2 separate regions of the Homo sapiens genome follow, and region 2 is linked to region 1. The links are contacts of gene promoters, found by promoter capture Hi-C in human tissues and cell types (Jung and others, 2019). All regions are on one chromosome and are shown on one strand. The core of a region is centred on a gene start or on the middle of the fragment in contact, and the rest is flanking DNA. Distances in the headings are between cores, read along the strand shown.

Region 1 (4,298 bases), core at 1,295-3,794:
GCCACCCTCCCCCACAGTCCAGGCCCTTCAGCCAAGGGCTCTGCACCAGCACCTTGGAAGCACCAATAAAGAGGATGCCCACGTGGCCCCAGCAATCAGAAGGTGTTGGTTGGTCCCTGGCTATGGCCACTATTGAGAGGGAGGACAGGGTGGGAACATGGAACATGTCCGTTTAAGAGGATCCCAGGGGATAGCACAGGTGCTATTATGGGCACTGCCACATGCTGCCTTGGACATGGAGACTCAGTGCTGACCTGTGACTTCAGACTTTTCTGAGCCTCAGTTTCCCCTTTTATACTACAGGGGAGTTGAGCTGGAGTCTATTCCATAAAGCAGGCCATGATGACACTGCTCAGAGTGAAGTGGGTGGGGTCTCAGGGACCACCTCTCCTCCTGCCTTCCACAGAAGCTGCTGAGAAGCCTCTGAGGACCTGCAGGCTCTGCAGCACCTAGGGACCTCAAAAACCCCTCTCCCTGCACTGCACTAGGGACCTCAAAACCCCTCTCCCTGCACTGCACTAGGGACCTCAAAACCCCTCTCCCTGCACTGCACTAGGGACCTCAAAACCCCTCTCCCTCCCTACACTTTTGTTCACACTGCCTCCTCCCGGCTTTTGTCCCCTCCAAGTCAGAGCCAGATTGAGATTCCTCTCTGGCAGTCAGTTTCCTGAGCTACCGTCTCTTCCAAACAGCAGGGGTAAGACTCCCACATTCTGCTCCAACCATGCTGTCTGGGGCATGGAACACCAGATTCTCAGCCTGCATGACCCTTCTCTCTCCAGTCCTCTGTCCCCTGTGTGCCTGGAAGTGCCAGGTTCAAAAGACCCATAGAGGCCTGTCCCGTTGTGATGGCAAGACCATGACCATGGACAGGCTGACAGTGGCTCTTTTCGGAGCTGGACTGGCAGAGCCTGGGCTTGTGGTGCCTGGCTCGGGGCTGATGCCTGCTGGGGATGCCTTCCTGTCCCAGGAGGTTCTGGCTGCCCAGAACGTTTCCCACAGTCCCGGCCAGCCTGGCCACCTTATATAGCCCTGAGTCCGGGCTGGGCCTGTGCTCTCTGCCCCAAGGGAGCAGCCCTGCTGTGAGGAAGGGCCCAGTCCTACTTGCTGGACTCCATGGGGAGACTCTTCCCCCAGACACTGAAAGGAGCGTGTTCCCCTGTGTAATCCCAATCGTATCCAGAGCCAAAAGGGTGAGCAGTGGAGACGTGCGCAGAGATGAGGCTTCTGGCCAGTCATGCTAAGGAAGGGGAACGTCTTCCTTGCAGCTGTAGAAATAGCTCCAGTCTATGGCACCTTTGCCCCAGGCCTGCCGCCACCTCTAATGGAGACAGGACTGGTGGAGAAACCCTCCCCAGCCTCTGGAAGCCACTGGCTGCCCCAAGGCCCCCGATAGGTTCCCAAGGCAGCTGGCCCCCTCAGGGCTGGTGTCACGGAGCCGCCGTCCTTCCCTGATCCAGGACTTGGCATCTGGCCACACTTTTATGACTCATCTTTACCCATCTGTGGCCACAGACTCAGGAGCTGGCTTCCCCAGAGCCACCAGGGAACACGAGCCCCAGCGGTGCCCAGAGCGCATAATATGTACTCACTCGATCCCACTTTACAAGGAGCAGAGCGCTTCAACTTTAGCAAGGCCGGGACCCACCCCAGGCCTTTGGGCAGCGCTCCCCTGGGTCTGGGCTGTGGCAGCATCACACTGCTCATGACAACAGCATTCTGCCCTCTCTCAACCAGCGATTCCTGGGCTCCCTCTGCTCCACCAAATGACTCCCCAGTCACCCCTCAGGAGCTGCTGGCACTGTCAGGTCTGTCTTCTGTTCCATGCTCTTCTGTCAATAAACTCCCCGCATGGAGACCTCTGTGCCACAGGATGTGGCAGGTTTATGACTCAGTTGTATTGCCATTCTTGTTTTGGGGGCCTTGCTGGGGTTGAACCTAAAGCCCTGGCTAGATTAATGGCACCCAAACAGCAACCTGGGACCCCAGGAGAGAGAAGGAGGCGCCCCGTGCCCAGCACCTCTCACTTCAGAAATACGGCGTATCTATCCTGACTCTAGATCTGCCCCACACAGACACCTCCCAGAGTCACTCCATGCCTTTGGGCCCTCCCATCAGCCAGACACACTTACCTGGTGGCCAAGCCCCCTTCTTCCGGGAAGCCGCTAGGGTAGCCCTGTAGCCCTAGTCTTCCCCACCATCCCCCGCTGTTTCTCCCCGGGCTGGACTTAGGGAGAGCAGACTGACATCTTCACTGTCAATTCCCTCCCAGCCCTGTGGAGCTTGGTGGAATGCCTGGTGTGAAGGGTCCTGGTGAAGGTTTCGCACTTTTCAGAAGGGGCATGTACCCCCACTCCAAACTGAGCCTACCTTTCTTTGGTATACATTCCTGCCCCCAGCCAAGGTCCATGGGACGTTCGTCATTTGCTTATCTGAGGTCACTGTGGTTTTTGGCTTGTAGATCCCAATTTCCCAGAACCTGCCCCCATGTGGGTGGGGCAGCAAACAAGTTACTAATCCATTCCCCACTTGCTGTCGAGTTCAGAAGCCTCCTGGCAGACACTGGAGCCACGATGAAGCCCCCAAGGCCTGTCCGTACCTGCAGCAAAGTTCTCGTCCTGCTTTCACTGCTGGCCATCCACCAGACTACTACTGCCGAAAAGGTAGCCAGTGTCCATGGGTGTGGCGTGAGCTGGGGGATGAGAGAACGCCTGGGAAGTGGGGAAGAGCCTCCGCATGTGCCAGCGTGTCAGCACAAGTGCGTGTGCATCCCTGTGTGTGCAAAAAAATGGTGCAGACCTCCCGCCAGGCACTACCCCAAGGGCCTTACTGGTATTCTCCCACCTAATAGAGGGGATGATCCAATCATTTCCATTTTCCAAATGAGGAAATACAGTTTTACAAGCCTGGCTCTACCGCCTTTTAGTAAGTGACCTCAGGAGAATGATTTATGCTGACTATGTCTCAATTTCCTCATCTGTAAAACAGGGTAATACTAGAACCTATTCAGAGGGTGGCGGTTGTGAAAACCAAACCCATTGTATCTATAAAGTGCTTAGGACAGTGCTTGTTGTGAAAACCAAACCCATTGTATCTATGAAGTGCTTAGGACAGTGCTTGTCGCAGAGCAAATACCCAAGCACATAAACAAGCCACTTGGCACCTCTGTGCCAAACTGCATTCAGGCAGCCGCATGCAGCCGAGCAGAGTTGGTGCAGTGCGCATGAGCATGTCACACACAAGCAGGTAAGAGGTGCCCGTGTGCCCCTCCTCGGGGGACACAGACCTCAAGGCAAATGGCACCTGCTAGGGGAGTGCCCTGCGGAAGTGGGGATGAGTTGGGGAGGGTCCACTGCGGAGCAGAGAGGAAGATTCCCAACTCTCAGAGACCAGACTCTAGTCTACCTCCGAATTCTCCCAGCTCTGAGGGCTTCCTTCTAGGAGACTGGTGGGAGCTTCCCTGTTGCCACAGAGGCCAAAGTCTCCAGAAATCAAAGGACCTGGTCACTGCCCTTTTTCTGGGCAAAGCTAAGCCAGCATGCAAAGCTCCCTGACCCCACCAGGTCTCTCACCCCTGCCCAAAGGCTGAGTGTGATGCCCCTCCCAGACACTGGCCCTGGCTTCACCAGCTCCACCCCCTGCATGCTTGTTCTTCTCCAAGGGGTGCTCTGGGCCCCTATAGATCAAGAAGGACGTGGCCCCTGCCCTGTGGTGCTGTAGGGTGGGGAATGAAGCACACTGCTATCTCTTACCTGAGACAAATGTTCACATATGAGATGCCTCACTGGGTTCAGCCTGAGGCCTGGTCAGTGGCTCAGTCAGATTGGGAGCCAGGGTTTGGTCTAGAGCCAGAGTCAGGGCCAACTCTTGAAGAGCGTCACCCCGAGCTGAGGTGGCATTGAAACCCTGCAACCCCCTTCTTCTTTGCTGGTCCAGAATGGCATCGACATCTACAGCCTCACCGTGGACTCCAGGGTCTCATCCCGATTTGCCCACACGGTCGTCACCAGCCGAGTGGTCAATAGGGCCAATACTGTGCAGGAGGCCACCTTCCAGATGGAGCTGCCCAAGAAAGCCTTCATCACCAACTTCTCCATGTAGGTGCCTTCCCACCCTCCTCCCCTCTCCACACCCCCCAGTGCTATGACTCCATCGCTCTGTGCCAGCAAACCCTCTTCTTGAAGTAAGGCATGCCAGGGTGTACATCTTCAGGAGTACACCCTGCACCTGGGGCCACACAGGAACAGGGGCTTGCCAAAGGACTTATTCTCAAAGATGCCCCCGTCCTTCCCTCCATC
Region 2 (4,298 bases), core at 515-3,014, 200 kb before region 1:
AAAGTTGTGGAACCCTTTGTTCAAATGAAATCTTTCTAGGAAGCCCGATAAGTAAAATAAAATGAGAGTCCTCCTAGTGGAGTAGGGGTGAAGGGCCAGCATCCTGTCCCACGGCAGGATAGCTGGACATTCTCTGCTTCCCTCTCCTCCCAGGCAGGACTGGCGGCTGGCTCTTGGGGCAGCCTTCCCAGTGGATTCTGCATAAATGGAGCTCCTCAGAGTTGCTGTCAGCACTGCTTTGAGGGCATGCTCTATGTTTTAAACCATTTTATCTATTCTGTACCCCACTTCCTTCCTTTGGAAATTTAAATTTTGATTGTGACTGATAAATGTAAAACTAGTGCCAGTGATGAACCTTGCCAAGGAAAAGGAAAGACACCTTGGAAAGTGAAACTAGATATTAAAAAGAGCTTCATCAAATGCTGAGACTGTCAAAAATGCTGAAGGGCTCCTTTCAAAATTTACTTACGTCTCTGGCCGGGTGCGGTTGCTCACGCCTGTAATCCCAGTATTTTGGGAGGCTGAGGTGGGCGGATCACTTGAGGCCAGGAGTTTGAGACCAGCCTGGCCAAAATAGTGAAACCCCATCAATTTTAATAAAAAATTAGCTGGGCGTGGTGACATGTGCCTGTAATCCCAGCTACTGGGGAGGCTGAGGCAGGAGAATCACTTGAACCTGGCAAGTGGGGGTTTCAGTGAGATGAGATGGCACCACTGCACTCCAGCCTGGGCAACAGAGTGAGACTCCATTTAAAAAAAATTTACTTAAGTCTCTGCTGACTCTTTTGAAAGTTGCTATTCTACCAACATGAACATTTTCAAGATAAACTTTGTTTAGTTTTACTGTTTTTGTTTTGTTCATTTATCAATGTAGTAGGCTTATTCAACCCATAAAACTAAAATGTTACATATTAGCAGTGAAAAATACAAACCTTGTTCTGTTGCTTCCAAATGGTCTCCCTACCTTCCCCACCTCTCCCATCCATCCAGCTACACTGAGGCCAAGTAGAGCTTTCTAAACAAACTTGATTTTAGTCACATAAAATCCCACATTTGGCCGGGTAAAGTCCAAACTCCTCAGGAAGGCATGCGGAATCCTTGAAGCACTGAGGCCAAGTAGAGCTTTCTAAACAAACTTGATTTTAGTCACATAAAATCCCACATTTGGCCGGGTAAAGTCCAAACTCCTCAGGAAGGCATGCGGAATCCTTGAAGCACTCAGGCCCAGTCCATTTGTCCAGCTTATTCCCTTCTCTCATGGCCTCTGCAGCCTCACCAACCCACTCTCCTGTAAATCCTTTCCTGCCATGTTCCATCCGCTTAGGGTGTTGTTCTGCTAAGGCAGTGCTCCCAAAATGTCAGTCTCACATGGACCGCTGTCACACTTTTTGGTATATTTGATTACCAAAATTATTATTATCATTATTTTGAGACAGAGTCTCGCTCTGTCGCCCAGACTGGAGTGCAGTGGCTCGATCTTGGCTCATTGCAGCCTCTGCCTCCAGGGTTCAAGCAGTTTTCCTGCCTCAGCCTCCCAAGTAGCTGGGATTACAGGCACGTGCCACCACGCCTGGCTAATTTTTTATATTTTTAGTAGCGATGGGGGTTTCTCCGTGTTGGCCAAGCTGGTCTCGAACTCGTGATCTCAAGTGATCTGCCCGCCTCAGCCTCCCAAAATGCTGGGTTTATAGGCATGAGCCACTATGCCTGGCCCACAATTATTCTTTTAATATGTTTTTAATTTTTATTTATTTTTTAAATTTATTTTTAATTAATTAATTTATTTATTTTTTGAAACAGACTGTTGTCACCCAGGCTGGAGTACAGTGGTGCGATCTTGGCTCACTGCAACCTCCGCCTCCTGGTTCAAGTGATTCTCCTGCCTCAGCCTCCTGAGCAACTGGGATTATAGACAGGCACGCACCACCACACCCAGCTAATTTTTGTATTTTTAGTAGAGATGGGATTTCACCATGTTGGTCAGGCTGGTCTCAAACTCCTGACCTCAAGTGATCTGCCCGCCTGGGCCTCCCACAGTGTTGGGATTATACGCATGAGCTACCATGCCCGTGCCAGTGATGAATCTTGCCAAGGAAAGATTCCTTAACTTAAATTTTATAAAGTATTATTACATTTTAAAAATGTCAAAATGCAATGCAAGTAATAAATCTAACCAGTTTATTAAAACACATTCCTTCAATAAAATTTCAACAAAGTCCTTTGTATTTAAAAAGAAGTACCTGATAATAGATGATATTAAGGAATTGTTGATTTTTTTTTTTTTTTTTTTTTTTTTGGAGACAGAGTTTTGCTCTTGTTGCCCAGGCTGGAGTGCAATGGCGCCATCTCGGCTCACCGCAACCTCCGCCTCCTGGGTTCAAGCAGTTCTCCTGCCTCAGCCTCCCAAGTAGCTGGGATTACAGGCATGCGCCACCACACCCCGCTAATTTTTTTATTTTTAGTAGAGACAGGGTTTCTCCATGTTGATCAGGCTGGTCTCGAGCTCCTGACCTCAGGTGACCCGCCTGCCTTGGCCTCTCAAACTGCTGGGATTACAGGCGTGAGCCACTGCGCCAGGGTGATTTTTTTTTTTTTTTTGTCTTTTTTGGTGTGATAATGGCATTGTAGTTATACATAAAGGAGAATGTGCTTATTCTTGGGAGATGCAAGCTGAAGAGTTTAGAGGGTGAGGTATGATATCCTCAGCATTTTCAGATGGCTCATAAAATACGTGTGTGTGTATAAATCTTTGTGTATATAGAAAGATAATTAGGAAATTTAAAATTTTTGAATCTAAGTAGAGAGTATTTGGAATTTTTTCAAAATCTCTTTCAAAATTTTGATAAAAGCTTGTAGTTGAGGGGGGTAAAAATGGCTGCAAAAAAAGTTAGTATTAAAAAAATGTTGGGCCGGGCGCGGCGGCTCACACCTGCAGTCCCAGCACTTTGGGAGGCCGAGGCGGGTGGATCACTTGAGGTCAGGCATTTGAGACCAGCCTGGCCAACATGGTGAAACCCCGTCTCTACTAAAAATACAAAAGTTAGCTGGGCGTGGTGATGTGTGCCTGTAATCCCAGCTACTTGGGAGGCTGAGGCAGGAGAATTGCCGGAACCTGGGAGGCGGAGACTGCAGTGAGCCGAGATTGCGCCACTGCACTCCAGCCTGGGCGACAGAGCAAGACTCCATCTCAAAAAAAAAAAAGCAAATTTTATTAAAAAATTTTGTAGAAGCAGGGTCTTGCTCTGTTGCCCAGGCTGGTCTCAAACTCCTGGCCTCAAACGATCCTCCTACCTCAGCTTCCCAGAGCACTGGGATTATAGGCATGAGCTCTTGCACCTGGCCCATAAATACTTCAAAAGGCAGAGTCTTTGGTAGGCCCCAAATTTTCTTGTATTCTATCAGAGGCTTAGGTGTGGGGGGAATGTTCTGCTAAAGAAATCCCTGTTTGTCCTTTAAGGCCCAGGGCTTCTGTGAAGCCTTCCCTCCTGGACTCCCTCAGGTTGCATTAACCACCCTTTGCTCTGGGCACTCACAGCATTCCACATATTCCACTGTTGTAAATATTACAATTGTGATTGTTTGTTCAGTGTTTCTCATCTCTACTAAACTGTGAACTCAAGGTCAGAGATGCTGTTTTATTCCTAGTTAGTACCTTGCACACAACCTAGCACAGAGTAGACACTAAATAAATTATAGCTGAATGAATGCATGGAAGCAATACTGCAACATATCCACTTATAATGTTATTCCTATTTGAAAATGTATTATGTTCTAAACAAGAAATGATTATGTTTAATGAGATCTCATCTTGTCATTTCCAGGCTTAGAGGCTGCCAGTGGCTTTCCATCGTAATTAGAATAAAATCCAAACTTCTTGTGTGGCCTACAATACTTTGTTTCTTGTTCCCTGCCCACCTCTACCACTTTTCCACTTGCTTTCCCATATGGGTCTTCTGTCCATCCCAAGGATATCAATTTTTATTTATTTTTATTTTTCTGAGACAGGGTCTCGCTCTGTCACCCAGGCTGGAGTGCAGGGGTGTGATCCCGGCTCACTGCAGCCTCCGCCTCCTGGGCTCAAGAGATCCTCCCACATCAGCCTCCCAAGTAGCTGGAACCATAGGCATGTACCACCATGCTCAGCTACCTTTTATATTTTTAGTAGAGATAGGGTTTTGCCATGTTGTCCAGGCTGGTCTTGAACCCCTGACCTCAAACATTCCACTCGCCTTGGGCTCTGAAAGTGCTGGGATTACAGGCATGAGCCATTGTATCCAGCTGGCTGGACATCAAGTTTG

The links. The method cuts DNA at HindIII sites, captures the fragments that hold promoters and counts their contacts. A contact is called where the count stands out against the background at its distance.
Region 2: a fragment that was not itself captured here is called in contact with the fragment with the promoter of ITIH4 in region 1 in 2 of the 25 tissues and cell types used here (spleen and thymus).

Annotation. Positions count from the first base shown.
Region 1 is chr3:52,828,918-52,833,215 of GRCh38, reverse strand. It overlaps ITIH4 (inter-alpha-trypsin inhibitor heavy chain 4), which reads left to right and starts at 2,544. Exons shown (of 24, transcript NM_002218.5): 1 at 2,544-2,663; 2 at 3,937-4,097. The coding sequence starts at 2,574. STIMATE-MUSTN1 (STIMATE-MUSTN1 readthrough) reads left to right here. Exons shown (of 10, transcript NM_001198974.3): 10 at 1-95. MUSTN1 (musculoskeletal, embryonic nuclear protein 1) reads left to right here. Exons shown (of 3, transcript NM_205853.4): 3 at 1-95. The HindIII fragment of the contact is 7,752 bases long and covers 1-4,298 here.
Region 2 is chr3:53,032,070-53,036,367 of GRCh38, reverse strand. The region is part of intron 1 of SFMBT1 (Scm like with four mbt domains 1); the gene reads left to right. Among named protein-coding and RNA genes, the nearest start is that of SFMBT1, 12 kb to the left of the region's middle. The HindIII fragment of the contact is 7,750 bases long and covers 1-4,298 here.